Linked DNA regions of Homo sapiens: region 2 is linked to region 1. The links are contacts of gene promoters, found by promoter capture Hi-C in human tissues and cell types (Jung and others, 2019). All regions are on one chromosome and are shown on one strand. The core of a region is centred on a gene start or on the middle of the fragment in contact, and the rest is flanking DNA. Distances in the headings are between cores, read along the strand shown. Region 1 holds the start of PGLYRP1 (peptidoglycan recognition protein 1). Region 2 has its middle 4.4 kb from the start of IGFL3.

Region 1 (7,381 bases), core at 2,119-4,618:
CATTTCCTTAGACAGGAACTCCTGTGAGAGTGCTGATGGGGAGGAGAAGGTCATGAGTCATTTTGCATTGGAGGTGCCTGTGGGACATCCAAGTGGAGGCGTCAAGTGGCCAGGTGGATACACAGATCCAGAACTCAACTGAGAGCTCCAGACTAGACATTGAAATACAGGAATCCTCTGCATTTTGACTGTGGCTGAAGCCATTATGTGGATAAGATCACTCAGCACAAAATATATGGTTTGAGGGTCCAGGAGGGAAGAATTGCTCTGAAAAAAAGAGAGAGAGAAAAAAAGACCAGCCAGAGAAGCAGAAGGAAAATCAAGGCAGTCTTACATCACAAAAGCTAAGGGAAATAAGTATTTTGAGAAGGAGGAAGTGGTCGACTGTGTCAATTGCTATCCAATTTCCCAAGATCATGTAGCTAATAAGGGGCAGAATGGAAATTTAAAACCAGGTCTACCTATATAATAAACAGAACCTGGGCAAACGGCTAGGCATCTGGAAACAAGATCAGACCCCTACCTCACACCACATGCAAGTATACATTTTAGCCGAGATAAAGATCTAAAAGTAAAACACAAAATAATCTTTTTTAAATAGAAAAAGTTTTACAATCTTAGTGTGAAAAGTCCCTCTTAAGGCAAGACAGGAAACACAGAAACCATAAAAGAAAAACCTAGATATTTTTTTAACAGATTAGAGGAAAGGGTTTACAGCACATTTGATAAGACATAGGGTTAATATCCCCCATATACAACTCAACAAGAAAATGATCAGAAGAGATGAACAGACAGTTTGAAGATGGATGCTGATAGCCATAAATATGTAAAAAGATAATCACCTCTCTAATGTTCAAGGAAATGCAAATAAAGCAATAATGAGATCTTGTTCTTTGGATTAGTAAAACATTTAAAAACTGATCATATTGTGGGAAAAATATATACTAAAATCTTTTTGGTATTGTATTTACCAATTCCTATTAAAATTTTAAGTGTAGCTCTACTTCTTAATCCAGGCACTGGATACACAGGTGGATTCACTTCGTGAACACTCATAAGCTCACTACTCTATTAAGTCTATCAACTCTATAAAAAATGTGTTTACACACTTTTTATATTACATTATTCTTTAATGCTTCTAAAAAAACTGAAATACACAAAATGTACACACCCAAGAAGTCAAAAATCCCAATTATGGGATTCTTTTGTTCATTTTGCAAATAATAACAAAAAGGCAAACAACCCAATTTTTTTTAATGGGCAATGGATATGAACAGGTAATTGACAAAAGAGCAAGCCCAAATATAGACAGCAAATACAGAAAAATACCCAGTCTCCTGAGTGGGTATAAAAATGCCAAAGGAGCTGTCACTTTATACTTATAAATTTAAGAAGTGATAACACTGGCCAGGCAAGGTGGCTCATGCCTGTAATCCCAGCACTTTGGGAGGCTGAGGTGGGTGGATCACCTGAGCTCAGGAGTTCGAGATCAGCTTGGCCAACATGGCGAAACCCCATCTCTACTACAAATACAAAAATTAGCCAGGTGTGGTGGCACATGCCTGTAATCCCAGCTACCTGGGAGGCTGAGGCAGGAGAATGGCTTGAACCCAGGAGGTGGAGGTTTACAGTGAGACAAGATCGTGCCACTGCATTCCAGCCTGAGTGACAGAGCGAGACTCTGACTCAAAAAAAAAAAAAAAAAAGTGATAACACCCACTTCTGGGGTCGGGGTGAGGAGGCTCCAAAACATTACTGGTGAAAAATATGAATTATTAATGGCTTTTTGGGGAAAATGATCTGGTAATATTAATTAAATATGTATACTCATTGACCTAATAACTCTGTGTTTATAATTTACTTATAAATGCACCAGTGCATAGGGATATATGTCTGAAAATATTTTGCGTAGTGTGGAGAAAATACTGGAAAACCTTCAAAAACTAAAAGATCCACAATGCTGAACTGATACTATAGCATATTGTGCAACTATTATAAAGAATAAATTAGAATTAGATGTACTGCCCTGGTGAGATGCCCATGAAATATTAGGTGACAAAAGGTAAATTGATGCACATGGTTTTGATTTTTTTTTTTAATGTCCTTATATAAGTTTGTAGGGAGGAGAATACGGTTTATAACTCTGCAGGCAGAAAGCCTGTAGCCAAACCCTGGCTTCATCACCTCCTGTATGTGATCATCCCCCCGGGCCTCAGTTCCGTCAACTGTAAGAGGGGTTAATAATAACATGGATCTGGCAAGCTTGTCGTTGAGTATATGATAATTTCTGAAAAGTGCTACAGATGCCTGGTGCACAATTCAGTAACAGCATGAGTACAATGTATATGAGAAGGCAGAACACAGAAGATGAAAACACACCACACAGGTCAGGCACGGTGGCTCATGCCTATAGTAATCCCAGCACTCTGGAACACTGGCAGGTGGCTCACCTGAGGTCAGGAGTTCGACACCAGCCAGGCCAACATGGCAAAACCCCGTCTCTACCAAAAATATAAAAATTAGCTGGGCGTGGTGGTGTGCACTTGTAATCCCAGCTACTCAGGAGGCTGAGGCAGGAGAATCACTTGAAGCCAGGAGGCGGAGGTTGCAGTGGCCCAAGATCGCACCATTGCACTCCAGCCTGGGTGACAAGAGCAAAACTCCATCTCAAAAAAAAAAAAAAAAAAAAAGGAAAATATTATTTATAAAATAGAAAATTAAAAAAAAAATTTTAAATACACATTTTTAAAAACCACTTGCAGGCTCTCACACACTGCATATCCAGGATTCACATGCAGGCAGCCTGGCTCTAGACGCGGGGCTCCAGTGCCTCCGGTGTCTCAGCCCGTGACTTCCCTGCTCTCAACCTCAGTTTACTCCACTGTGAAATGGACTTCCAGATACTCACCTCTTGAGTTTGCTGCAAGCGTAAATGGCATCAGGCTTGGACCTGGGGGAAGGAAGTGTTTTTAAAATGGGTAGCTTTGTTACCTCAGTCCTTGCGGGGAGAAGATGTGCCAATGCCCCGGGCCTCTGCGATGTAAGTTCCTGTTGAGTTGTTCAATGTTCCACTGAGAGGAGAGACAAGCAGGACCGGGATCCCGGCCCCGGGTCTTCCAGAAACGGCGGGGCGAAGCGCCCAGGGGCCTGTGCGTCCCTCCCTGCTGAGCGAGGGGGCCTGTCATTGCCGTGGGCGTGACCCAGACCCCAACCACAGTGCATCCCGCCCTGGCCCAGCCAGAGAAGGAAGCTGAGTCTGGGGTCTGCTGGGCCAGCAGGAAGTCCCAGCAGGGTGTGAAGCAAGACTTTCCGGGCCACTCCTGGAATCCCCCAGCAGATAAAGGCGGCCCCTCCACCGGGCGCTCCTAGCGGTCTCCCGGACCCTGCCGCCCTGCCACTATGTCCCGCCGCTCTATGCTGCTTGCCTGGGCTCTCCCCAGCCTCCTTCGACTCGGAGCGGCTCAGGAGACAGAAGACCCGGCCTGCTGCAGCCCCATAGTGCCCCGGAACGAGTGGAAGGCCCTGGCATCAGAGTGCGCCCAGCACCTGAGCCTGCCCTTACGCTATGTGGTGGTATCGCACACGGCGGGCAGCAGCTGCAACACCCCCGCCTCGTGCCAGCAGCAGGCCCGGAATGTGCAGCACTACCACATGAAGACACTGGGCTGGTGCGACGTGGGCTACAAGTGAGTGTGGCAGGGGGGCACGGGCTGGACTGGGGATCCCAGAGGCAAAGGTGTGCAAGTGCCCGCCAGCGGGACCATTTCTAGGCCTGGTGCTGAGGCCACCTGGCTGACACCCTGAGCAGCTTACTGAACCTCACAAGGTCATTTCTTCCTCGGGTCACCACGTGGGCCGGGGCAGGTGCTCACAGCACAAAGATGCGTGAGAAGGGGGGATGGGCTGAAATCCAAGCCCCGCTCCCGCTCCCGGGAAGAAGGGGCAGGCTTTGCCTAACACACACCAAGGTGTCCGCGACGCCTTATGAAGGCGCCCCTTCCTGATGCCTGGTGCCTTTGTTAGGAGGCGGAAAACCAGGCTGACTCAGTGCGGAGCTGGGTTCCAGGGTCAGCTCATCTTATTGCTGGCTGAGGCCTGGGGCGGGTCCTCCCGGCTTCAGCTTCCTCCTCGGCAAAGTCAATGGAATCGCGGCCCATCTGCTCCTTATATGAGCCAATACAGGCAAAGCACCTAGGAACTGCCTGGCACACGGGGGCCCGCAAAGCCACGGGCTATTACCATTAGGCACCTACTATGTGCCAGGCAGTGTGCCAGATGTGGCATGGAGAACGGTGCCACTCTAGCCTCCTGGGGTTGAAAGACCAGCAGGGAGAAACAAGCCAAGGCCACAGGTGAATTCAGACGGTGATAGAGGCGATGGATAAAAGGAAAGAGGTGAGGGAGGGTGACCTCAGGCTGGGACCAGACCCACACAGGCTCCTTGGAAGGGTGGGGCAAGGGAAAGCCTCCCTGAGAGTGGCTGCCTTGGCTCTGGGATGGGGGAGCAGACAGAGGCCTGCAGGTGGCAGGGGGTGCTGGGGGCAAAGCCAACGGGGTTGAGTGGGCGGGTCCTGTGGGAAGGACAGGGTGGCTGAACACAGCCGGGCGAGCGGAATGAAATGAGGAAAGGGCAGGACCAGGCAGGGCTTTGTGGACCACAGTGAGGACTGTAGCTTTTACTCCGAGATGGGAGCCATGGGAGGCTTCCCCCCGCAGAGCAGGGACCAGGGCTAGTGTAGGTACAAGAGACTCCCTCTGGCTGCTGTGGGGAGAACAGACTGTAAGGGGTGCCGGCTGAAGCAGGCTGAAGCAGGTCCGGGGCCACGCCTACCAGCTACCTCCTCCTTAGAATGGGCTGCAGTCCAGCCTGACGGTTTCCACAGGGAGGGAACTTTCAATCCTGCAGGCTCTCAGACCCAGGTAAGCATCAGAATCTCCTGCAGAGCTTATTGGAGGAACATGCAGGTCCCCAGAGACCACTTCAATAGACCCCACCCAGGGGACACATGTTCTCAGGACCTCCTAAGGCTGTGTCTCACACACACACACACACAAAACCCACCCAGAGAAGTCTAGAAGTGTCCAAAGGTATTCCCAGCCCTTCCAGTTCAAGATTTTATCAAAGACTCCAACTTCAACATTTTGTTTCCAAGACTCAGGCGCTCTGATCCTAAGTGTTCCCATGAGGTCACGAAGGCCCGAGCCTCGGGTCCACATCACCACATACAGAAGCAGCCGCTGTCTGGCCCTCAGCTTTTAGGATTCCGAATCTGGTTCTAACGTTCTGAATCCCCTTTCCATGTCACGTCACCTTCTCTCTCTGAGCCTCGTTTCTTCACCTGTAAATGGGGCTTCTGACTGTACCCGCTTGGCGATGGTGGCTGAGGTTTCAATGAGATGCATTCATGCAACAAATGACCAGGGAGAACCAACCACCCCCGACCCCAGCACCATCATGCCAGGCTCCGGGAATATGGCAGGGCCATAACCAGCCAGTCCCAGCAGCCAGCATCACCAGCAGGGCCATAACCAGCCAGTCCCAGCAGCCAGCATCACTGGGGCCAGATTCTGGGAGCTGGCTTCCTAAGCAGCAGATTCGGGACTCAAGATTCGGAAGTTCCGACATTCTGTGCGTCATTAATGACACTGTGAGCGCGGGGGCTGAGTTGGCACATACTGCAGCTCCAAGGCACTGATCTTCTAGTTCATTCCCATTTGCCAAGTCAGACACGCTCAATCAGATGTGCTGAATGAATCAGCCTTAAGGATCTGCTGCCAGGCTTGGGAACCTCAAAGAGGCAGGTGCTGGGGCTCCAGGGTCGGTATCTGGTTACGACCCCAACTTTGAGTCTGTGATCCTGTCCCCCAGTGGACCCCGAGGGCAGGAAGCAAGCTGGGGCAAAGGCAGAGTTCTGAGAGGCAGGGGGCTCTGAGTAGCTTGTACAAATTATGTCGCTTTCTGAGTCTCTGCTCTCTCTGCTTAAGATGAGGATGATAAGAGTCCCTGCCTTGGCTGGGCACGGTGACTCATGCTTGTAATCCCAGCACTTTGGGAGGCCAAAGGCGGGCAGATCACCTGAGGTCGGGAGTTCGAGACCAGCCTGGCCAACATGGTGAAACCCCATCTCTACTAATAATACAAAAATTAGCCGGGTGTGGTGGCTCATGCTTGTAATCCCAGGTACTCAGGAGGCTGAGGCACGAGAATCACTTGAACCCAGGAGGCAGAGGTTGCGGTGAGCTGAGATCACGCCACTGCACTCCAGCCTGAGCAACAAGAGTGAAACCCCGTCTTAAAAAAAAAAAAAAAAAAAAGTCTCTGCCTCAGAGGGCTGTCCTGCAAGGATTCAGTAAAACAGGACTTCCACAAATCCTCTAGGGAGGCAGGAGAGAGCAACGCACAAGATCACATGGGTGGGGACCATGGAGGCCTGGTTAAAAACCCCAGCTGTGCCCCAGACAGGCTGTGTGACCCCGGGGCAGGTGATTCTACCGCTCTGATTCTGTCTATATAAAACGGGGGTGATAGTGACTCACAGGGTTGCTGTGAGGATGGAAAAAGGTGTATGCAGAGCTGTGCTTGGCACATGGCAGGGGCCCAATAAATGACCACAGTCATTGTTACTATCGTGGGAAATTAACGGGTGAGAAGGATGCTGGGGAAGTTGTGTGCACCACGGCAGTAACGGAGGCAGGGTGAGTGGAGGAAGGAGGAGGAGTCCTCCTCGGGAAACCCTCCCTCACTCATCAAGCCCCCCCACCTCCCCATGCAGCTTCCTGATTGGAGAAGACGGGCTCGTATACGAGGGCCGTGGCTGGAACTTCACGGGTGCCCACTCAGGTCACTTATGGAACCCCATGTCCATTGGCATCAGCTTCATGGGCAACTACATGGGTGAGTGACTGTCCAGCCAGTTGGGATGGGGGCTGACACGGGGCCCTACGCTATCACTTCCCCTTCGGGGAAGCCCCTGCCTGACTCCTACCTCTGCCTCCTCCAGATCGGGTGCCCACACCCCAGGCCATCCGGGCAGCCCAGGGTCTACTGGCCTGCGGTGTGGCTCAGGGAGCCCTGAGGTCCAACTATGTGCTCAAAGGACACCGGGATGTGCAGCGTACACTCTCTCCAGGCAACCAGCTCTACCACCTCATCCAGAATTGGCCACACTACCGCTCCCCCTGAGGCCCTGCTGATCCGCACCCCATTCCTCCCCTCCCATGGCCAAAAACCCCACTGTCTCCTTCTCCAATAAAGATGTAGCTCAAAATGTGTTCCTCAGCAGGTCCCACCACACACCTCCCCTCCTTCTCTCCCTCCCACAAGACCAAAGCCCTCCCACCCCTTCCCCTCCCAGCACTCTCCTCACTGGTGCTTGGAACC
Region 2 (7,239 bases), core at 327-2,826, 110 kb before region 1:
TCCTTCCCTTTCTTCTTCTTTCCTCTCCCTCTCCCTCCCTCTCTCCCTCTATCGTTTTCCCTCCCTCTTCCTCTCCTTCTCTCTCCCCTTCTCTGTCATACTGGCCCTCAATCCTGTAACTCTATTCAAAACCCCTCACCACTTCACTTTCTCTTTGCCACACCATGTGAGGAGGGGAAGCCTGTGGACTTTTCTGTCATCTGTCTGTTTGGGTGTGTGAGTCTATCAACTTTGGGTGCTGGCTTTTTAAGGAGAGAACTGACAGCACGTGGAACCAAAGTTTGTGTCACTTATGTCCCAATGAATTGTTTTCTTTCTGTGCATTTAATTCAATATCTTATTTTCCCATGCAACCCACTGGTTGGCCTCTTGTAAAAAGGAGAGACTTTTGCCTATGGTTCCATGAAATGGAAAGGGATCATTTTCTTTTGTAACGTGGCTTGGCCCCCACAGCTATGCCACAGGGAGCAAGGTCACCAAAGTTGCTCAGAAAAAGAGAACCCAAAACCGTAGCATGCCAGCAAAAGGGTAAGAATTTCTTACCAGCCAGGCTTCTGGACTTTCTCTGTGTGTGTGTGAAAACTGGTTAAGTGAATGACAAAATTCACTGTTTCCCTCCTCTGCAAGGCTTTAACCCATTTCCTGTTGGCCAAGAATATTCTTATCTTTAATACTAATGTAAAATCATATACATTTCTGCTACGTTAATACTAGAGACAAGTTCTGTTTAGAAACAACTCCAAGAACAGTTTTGTTTTTGTTGTTGTTGTTTGAGAGGGAGTCTCGCTCTGCTCCCCAGGCTGGAGTGCAGTAGCATAATATTGGCTCACTGCAACCTCCACCTCCTGGGTTCAAGCGACTCTCCCACTTCAGCCTCCCGAGTAGCTGAGACTACAAGCATAGGCCACCATGCCCGGCTAACTTTTGTATTTTTAGTAGAGACAGGGTTTCACCATATTAGCCAGGCTGGTCTTAAACTCCTGGCCTCAAGTGATCTGCCTGCTTCAGCCACCCAAAGTGCTGCGATTACAGGCATGAGCCAAGAAGGGGTTTTTATGTTTTATTTTCACACTGAAAATCAGTCATATTCGCTTCAGCCTCGAAGAGCATGTTTACGTAAAATTAAATGGGTGTTGACAGCAAACTAGACCTAATAAAAAAAGAAGTCGATAAACCTCTGAGACAGAAAGTATTAAAACATTAGAATGCTCATGCTTTCCAAAGCCAAACAATGTTTACAAAAAAATTTCATCTGAATTCCCATTTTTAAATTTTGCTATTTTTTAGGAGGAGGGTTTAGAAAATTACTTGGGAGCTCTTAAAGCTGACTGCACAAATATTGTCGAGTAAAGCTTAATGTAGTGTAATAAGGAGAGAAGTTTTTGTCTATTATTAAAATTTAAAACAAAGCTACTGTAAATGAACCAGACACTACCTAGAAAAATTACACATAAATCAATTGAACAGAGTCCATCAACAGATAAAGCTAATAATGGAAAACTGAGATATAAGAAAAGTAACATTGTACATTAGAAGAAAAGGGATGAAACTAGTCAACAAGTAATTTCAGATTCAATAGGACATTCATTAGCAAGAAAATTAACTTAGACTCAGCATCACATCTTATAGAAAAAGTTATATGTGAATAAAAATGACTAAAAAGAAAGTAAAAATATAGAACTATTCATAGAACTTTAAGTTGGAGATGGCCTCCTTACGTAAGCGGAAGCCAAAAAGTGGAAAGAAGATGTAGGGCAGTGGTAAAAGACACTGCTGCATAAAAATTTAAAATATCTCAAAAAAGAAGACTCCACCAGCATTACTGAGAAACAAACACAAAGGCGAGGAAAACATATAACAGACAAAAGGTTAGTATCTCCCATATAAAAAGAGCATTTATAAATTAATAAGAAGGAAGCAAACAACCCAAAACAATTATTCTGAATAGTGTATCATTTACAGAAAAGGAACTATACATCATTAAACATAAAAATAATGAGAAATACTGGGAACCTTCATCCAAGCTCATAAATTTCTTCTAATCTTAGTTCTTGCTCACTTTATTTTTTAATTTGGAACCTACCAAAGATAATAAATTCCTCTTTTTGCCACAGCTTAAGCTAGTTTAAACTGGCAAGCAACCACTTGCAAGTAACCAGTTTATAAACATAATGAAAAGGTGCTTCCAAGAACCTCAATAAACAGCATGTAGACAAACAAATGCCATATTTTAAATAACATGGTATGTTCTTTAACTCATCATCTGATGCTTGCTGGGGGAACTAAAATATTTATCAAAACTCTAAAGAAGTTATTGCCCTGTGAGATAATGAAAAAGGCTGTTTCATAGGAAACGTGTACTTCACCCACTTAGTTCAGGAGATCATACCCTGTAGTATTTGGTTTAAATAAACAGTGAACCTGAACCCTTGAAACTGCATGCAGTCCATCTCACATGCAATTACACCCACAGGCTCAAAATAAAGGGATGGAGGAAAATCTACCAAGCAAATGGAAAACAGAAAAAAGCAGGAGTTGCAATCCTAATCTCAGATGACTTTAAACCAACAAAGATAAAAAAAGACAAAGAAGGGTATTATGTAATAGTAAAGGGTTCAATTCAACAAGAAGGCCTAACTATCCTAAATACATATGCACCCAACACAAGAGCACCCAGATTCAGAGAGCAAGCTCTTTGAGACCTTCAAAGAGATCTAGACATCCATACAATAATAGTGGGAAACTTCAATACCTCACTGACAGTATTAGACAGATCATCAGGTCAGAAAATTAACAAAGATATTCAGGACCTGAACTCAGCACTGGATCAAATGGGCCTGATAGACATCTGCAGAACTCTCCACACAAAAGCAATAGAATATACATTCTTCTCACCACCACATGGCACACATTGAAAAATCGACCACATAATCAGACACGAAACACTCCTCAGCAAACACAAAAGAACCGAAATCATAACAACCACTCTCTCAGACCATAGCACAATCAAATTAGAAATCAAGACTAAGGAATTTGCTCAAAACCATACAATTACATGGAAATTGAATAACCTGCCCCTGAATGACTTTGGGGTAAATAATGAAATTGAGGCAGAAATCAAGAAGCTATTTGAAACCAATGAGAACAAAGATACAATATACCAGAATCTCTGGAACACAGCTAAGGCAGGAGTAAGAGGGAAATTTATAGTACTAATTGCCCACTTCAGAGAGTCAGAACTCAGCTTCACAACCTAACATCACAACTAAAAGAACTAGAGAACCCAGAGCAAACAAACCCCAAAGCCGGCAGAAGACAAGAAATAATCAAAATCAAAACTGAACTGAAGGAGACAGAGACACACACACACACACACACACACACACACACACACACACACACAAAAGATCAACAAATCCAAGAGTTGGTTTTTTGAAAAAAATTAATAAAATAGATAGAACACTAGCTAGATTAAAAAAGAAGAGGGAAGATCCGAATAAATACCATTAGAAATGTAAAGGGGGATATTATCACTAACCCCACAGAAATAATAACCATCAGAGAATATTATCAACACCTCTATGCACATAAACCAGAAAATCTACAAGAAACTGATATATTTTTGGACATATACACTCCCAAGATTGGACCAGGAAGAGATTCGGTCCCTGAATAGACCAATAACAAGTTCTGAAATTGAATCAGCAATAAATAGCCTACCAACCAAAAAATTTCCAAGACCAGATGGATTCACAGTTGAATTCTACCAGATGTACAAAGAAGAGCTGGTACCATTCCTACTGAAAGTATTCCAAAAAATTGAGAAGGAGGGACTCCTCCCTAACTTATTCTATGAGGCCAGCATCATCCTGATATCAAAACCTGGCAGACACACAACAAGAAAAGAAAGCTTCAGGCCAATATCCTTGATGAACATCAATGCAAAAAATCCTCAAGAAATCCCGGCAAACTGAATCCAGCAGCACATGAAAAGCTAATCCACCATGATCAAGCAGGCTTTATTCCTGGGATGCAAGGTTGGTTCAACATATGCAAATCAATAAATGTGATTCATTGCAGAAACAGAACTAAAGACAAAAACCACATAATTATCTCAGTAGATGCAGAAAAGGCTTTTGAGAAAAATTCAACACCTCTTCATGTTAAAAACTCTCAATAAACTAGGTATTGAAGAAATATACTTCAAAATAACAAGAGCCATCTGTGACAAACTCACAGCCAACATTATACAGAATGGGCAAAAGCTGGAAGAATTCACCTTGAAAACTGGTACAAGATAAGGATGCCCTCTTTCACTGCTCCTATTCAACATAGTATAGGAAGTCCTGGCCAGAGCAATCAAGCAAGAGAAAGAAATAAAGGGCATCTAAATAAAAAGAGAGTACATCAAACTATCCCTGTTTGCAGATGACATGATCCTGTATCTAGAAAACCCTACAGTCTCCACAAAAGCTCCTTCAGCTGATAAGCAACTTCAGCGAAGTTGCAGGATATAAAATCAATGTACAAATGTACATTTTTTGTACAATGTACAAAAATCACTAGCATTCCCATACACCAACAACAGTAAAGCCAAATCAGGACTGCAATTCCCATTCACAATTGCCACAAAAAGAGTAAAATACCTAGGAATATAGCTAACCAGGGAGGTGAAAGATCTCTACAAGGAGAACTACAAAATAATGCTCAAACAAATCAGAGATGACACAAAAAAGTGGGAAAACATTCCATGCTCATGGATAGGAAGAATCAATATTGTTAAAAATGGCCATACTTCCCAAAGTGTTATGGGATCCTTGGGGTGTCGCTTCACCAACCAGAAACTTCTGTGGCCAGTGGCTCCTTTGCTCAAGTAACCAAATACCACCTGTACCCCAATAACTTACGAAAAAATTAAAAGTAGATTTTTTAACATTTTAAAAAAGTAAAATTAGTGACTCTAAAAAAAAAGAAATTGCATGCAGTCTGTCTGTTGTCTATCAATCTAACATCTATCTAATATCCAACCACCCATCCATCCATCATCTATCTATCTACCTACCTACCTATCTACCCACCTACCTACCTACCTATACATCTTACCTATCTACCTATACATCCGTTTAAGAACAATTTTCTGGGAGGATTGATAATTTTCATTAAATCAGCAAAAATTGTCCGGGACCTAAATTATGTTGAAACTTAGTGCCAGACAGAAAGTTATTTCTTCCTTCAAGAAAATTTAGACTAAGAATGATTGCCTATGACCTAAATTGTCAATAGTTCATGGAACAAGATGTGTATATTTTGTTCTTTCTTTCTTATTCTCTTTCTCTCCTTCCTTCCTTCTTCTTTCTTTGCAACAGCATCTCACTCAGTCACCCAGGCTGGATTACAGTGGTGCCATCACAGCTCACCACAGCCTTCCGAGTAGCTGGGACTGCAGGCATGTACCACCATGCCCAACTAATTTTATTTTTGTTTTCTGGTACAGACAGGGTCTCGCTTTGTTGCCCAGGCTGGTCTTGAACTCCTGGCTTTAAGCTGTTCTCCCACCTCAGCCTCCCAAAGTGCCAGGATTACAGGTGTCAGCCACTGTGCCCAGACTATTTTGCAGCTTTCTTAAGAAAGCACAGTTGAGGAGAGAAAATACGAAAAGCTTGACACACTCCAGCTACTGTGCTGGGAGCTTTTCAAGTGTGTCTTCATCTGATCCTCATAAATATACTAAGTTTCAAATTGGAATGACTCTCCTCCACTCAGAGATGTACATATATATTCTACATTCCCATACCCTTGAACTAGTGATGCATCGTATCATCAATAGGGTCTTGCAATAGCTATCAGACAAGCAGAGTGACATAGCTGCTGCCAGTTGTACAGGGACGAACTAAGTCTTCAGGTTAATATTCTTGACACTTCAATTAAGTTGTGTGGATTGCTTATGTTTCATGTGTTGAGTGTAACTGTCATTTTAAATATCAGAAAACACCATGATTTGGCTTGTGTGTTGTGTGTGCAGAATGACACATTAATAGAAGACGATGACGTAAATTTACTGTTAATGAAGCACATGCTCATTGTTTTAGGAATGAACCCAAGTACATATTTTCTTGCAGATCAACAACCAAGTGCTTTATGGGGCACAAGAAGATAAAGAGATGAAGAGTATCACATTTTGTTTCTGAGACAGGCACAGAAGGATTGCCTAGCACAAGGAAAACAACATAATGAAAGGCAGAAGGAGTTGTCAAAATCTCTAGGAATAGATGAAAGAAAATTCAAAGAAAGAAGGGGCTAGTGTCACCAGTTCAATGATAACTTGCAGTATGGGTGTCAGCAGCTTAGAATAAAACCAAACTTTGCATGACCAATGCTGTTGGTAGAACTGAGAATGATGTTGTGTAAGAAAGCACAGGAACCAATCTGGGGTTGAAAGATGATTCACAGGAGGCAGTCTCCAAATGTGGAGACATTTTAAGAAATCTTTAACAGATTTATTTCCCATATATTTTTATTTTTCTATTCGCCTTCCAAAAGTCTACGTCTCAACATGTTGCAAGAAGCTCTGTTAATAAACATTCTAAGTGATGAGATTGCATCTTAGAGTTGCAAAACAACAGTGTATCTTTCAATAACATCTTAGTGTTAATGAGATACAACATAAGGATTTCTCTAAATGATTATCATTATAAAATGCATTAAAAATTATCCCTTCAAGCTGCCCCTTGCCACTTCTGTAAGATGAAAAATTAAGTACACATTAACTTCCCAATGCCCAATAGTAAAGCTGAAGTTTCATTTGGAATAAGAATGATAATTGTATATTAAAGATATTATTATTTGTCCTTTGTATTTTACCTAATCAAACTCAAACGTTTCTTTTTAACATTTGGTAGTAAACAAGCTGACAGCCTGGGCTCACTAGGAATCTTCACATTGTTGGCCTTCTTAGGTTCCGGGGTAGGGGAGAGCAGCCTTGTGCATCCAAACCACACCCCACACCTCCGCACATGTACAGGAAGCTAAGAATGAAGCTCAGAAAAGGAGAACCATTTCAAAGGCTATGGTACAGGCTGGATGAACTTAAGTCAGCAACTCTTCCCTATGCTGTGCCAGCAAGTGGAGGATGGAAAGTCTGGCCAATCCTTAGACATTTTCTGATTGAATCATCACACATCCATGAAGACTGAGGTCCTTTCCACAGCTTCGGGATTATTTGAATTTGTCCAAGCCCTT

Evidence for each region. The method cuts DNA at HindIII sites, captures the fragments that hold promoters and counts their contacts. A contact is called where the count stands out against the background at its distance.
Region 2: a fragment that was not itself captured here is called in contact with the fragment with the promoter of PGLYRP1 in region 1 in 5 of the 25 tissues and cell types used here (aorta, heart left ventricle, heart right ventricle and 2 more).

The regions. Positions count from the first base shown.
Region 1 is chr19:46,019,040-46,026,420 of GRCh38, reverse strand. It overlaps PGLYRP1 (peptidoglycan recognition protein 1), which reads left to right and starts at 3,368. Exons shown (of 3, transcript NM_005091.3): 1 at 3,368-3,686; 2 at 6,774-6,895; 3 at 7,002-7,268. The coding sequence starts at 3,400. The coding sequence ends at 7,183. MIR769 (microRNA 769) reads right to left here; the gene lies at 7,372-7,381. RefSeq lists an enhancer at 3,875-4,760. The HindIII fragment of the contact is 20,258 bases long and covers 1-7,381 here.
Region 2 is chr19:46,125,472-46,132,710 of GRCh38, reverse strand. It overlaps a transcript of IGFL2 not described here. Among named protein-coding and RNA genes, the nearest start is that of IGFL3, 4.4 kb to the right of the region's middle. The HindIII fragment of the contact is 6,419 bases long and covers 1-4,785 here.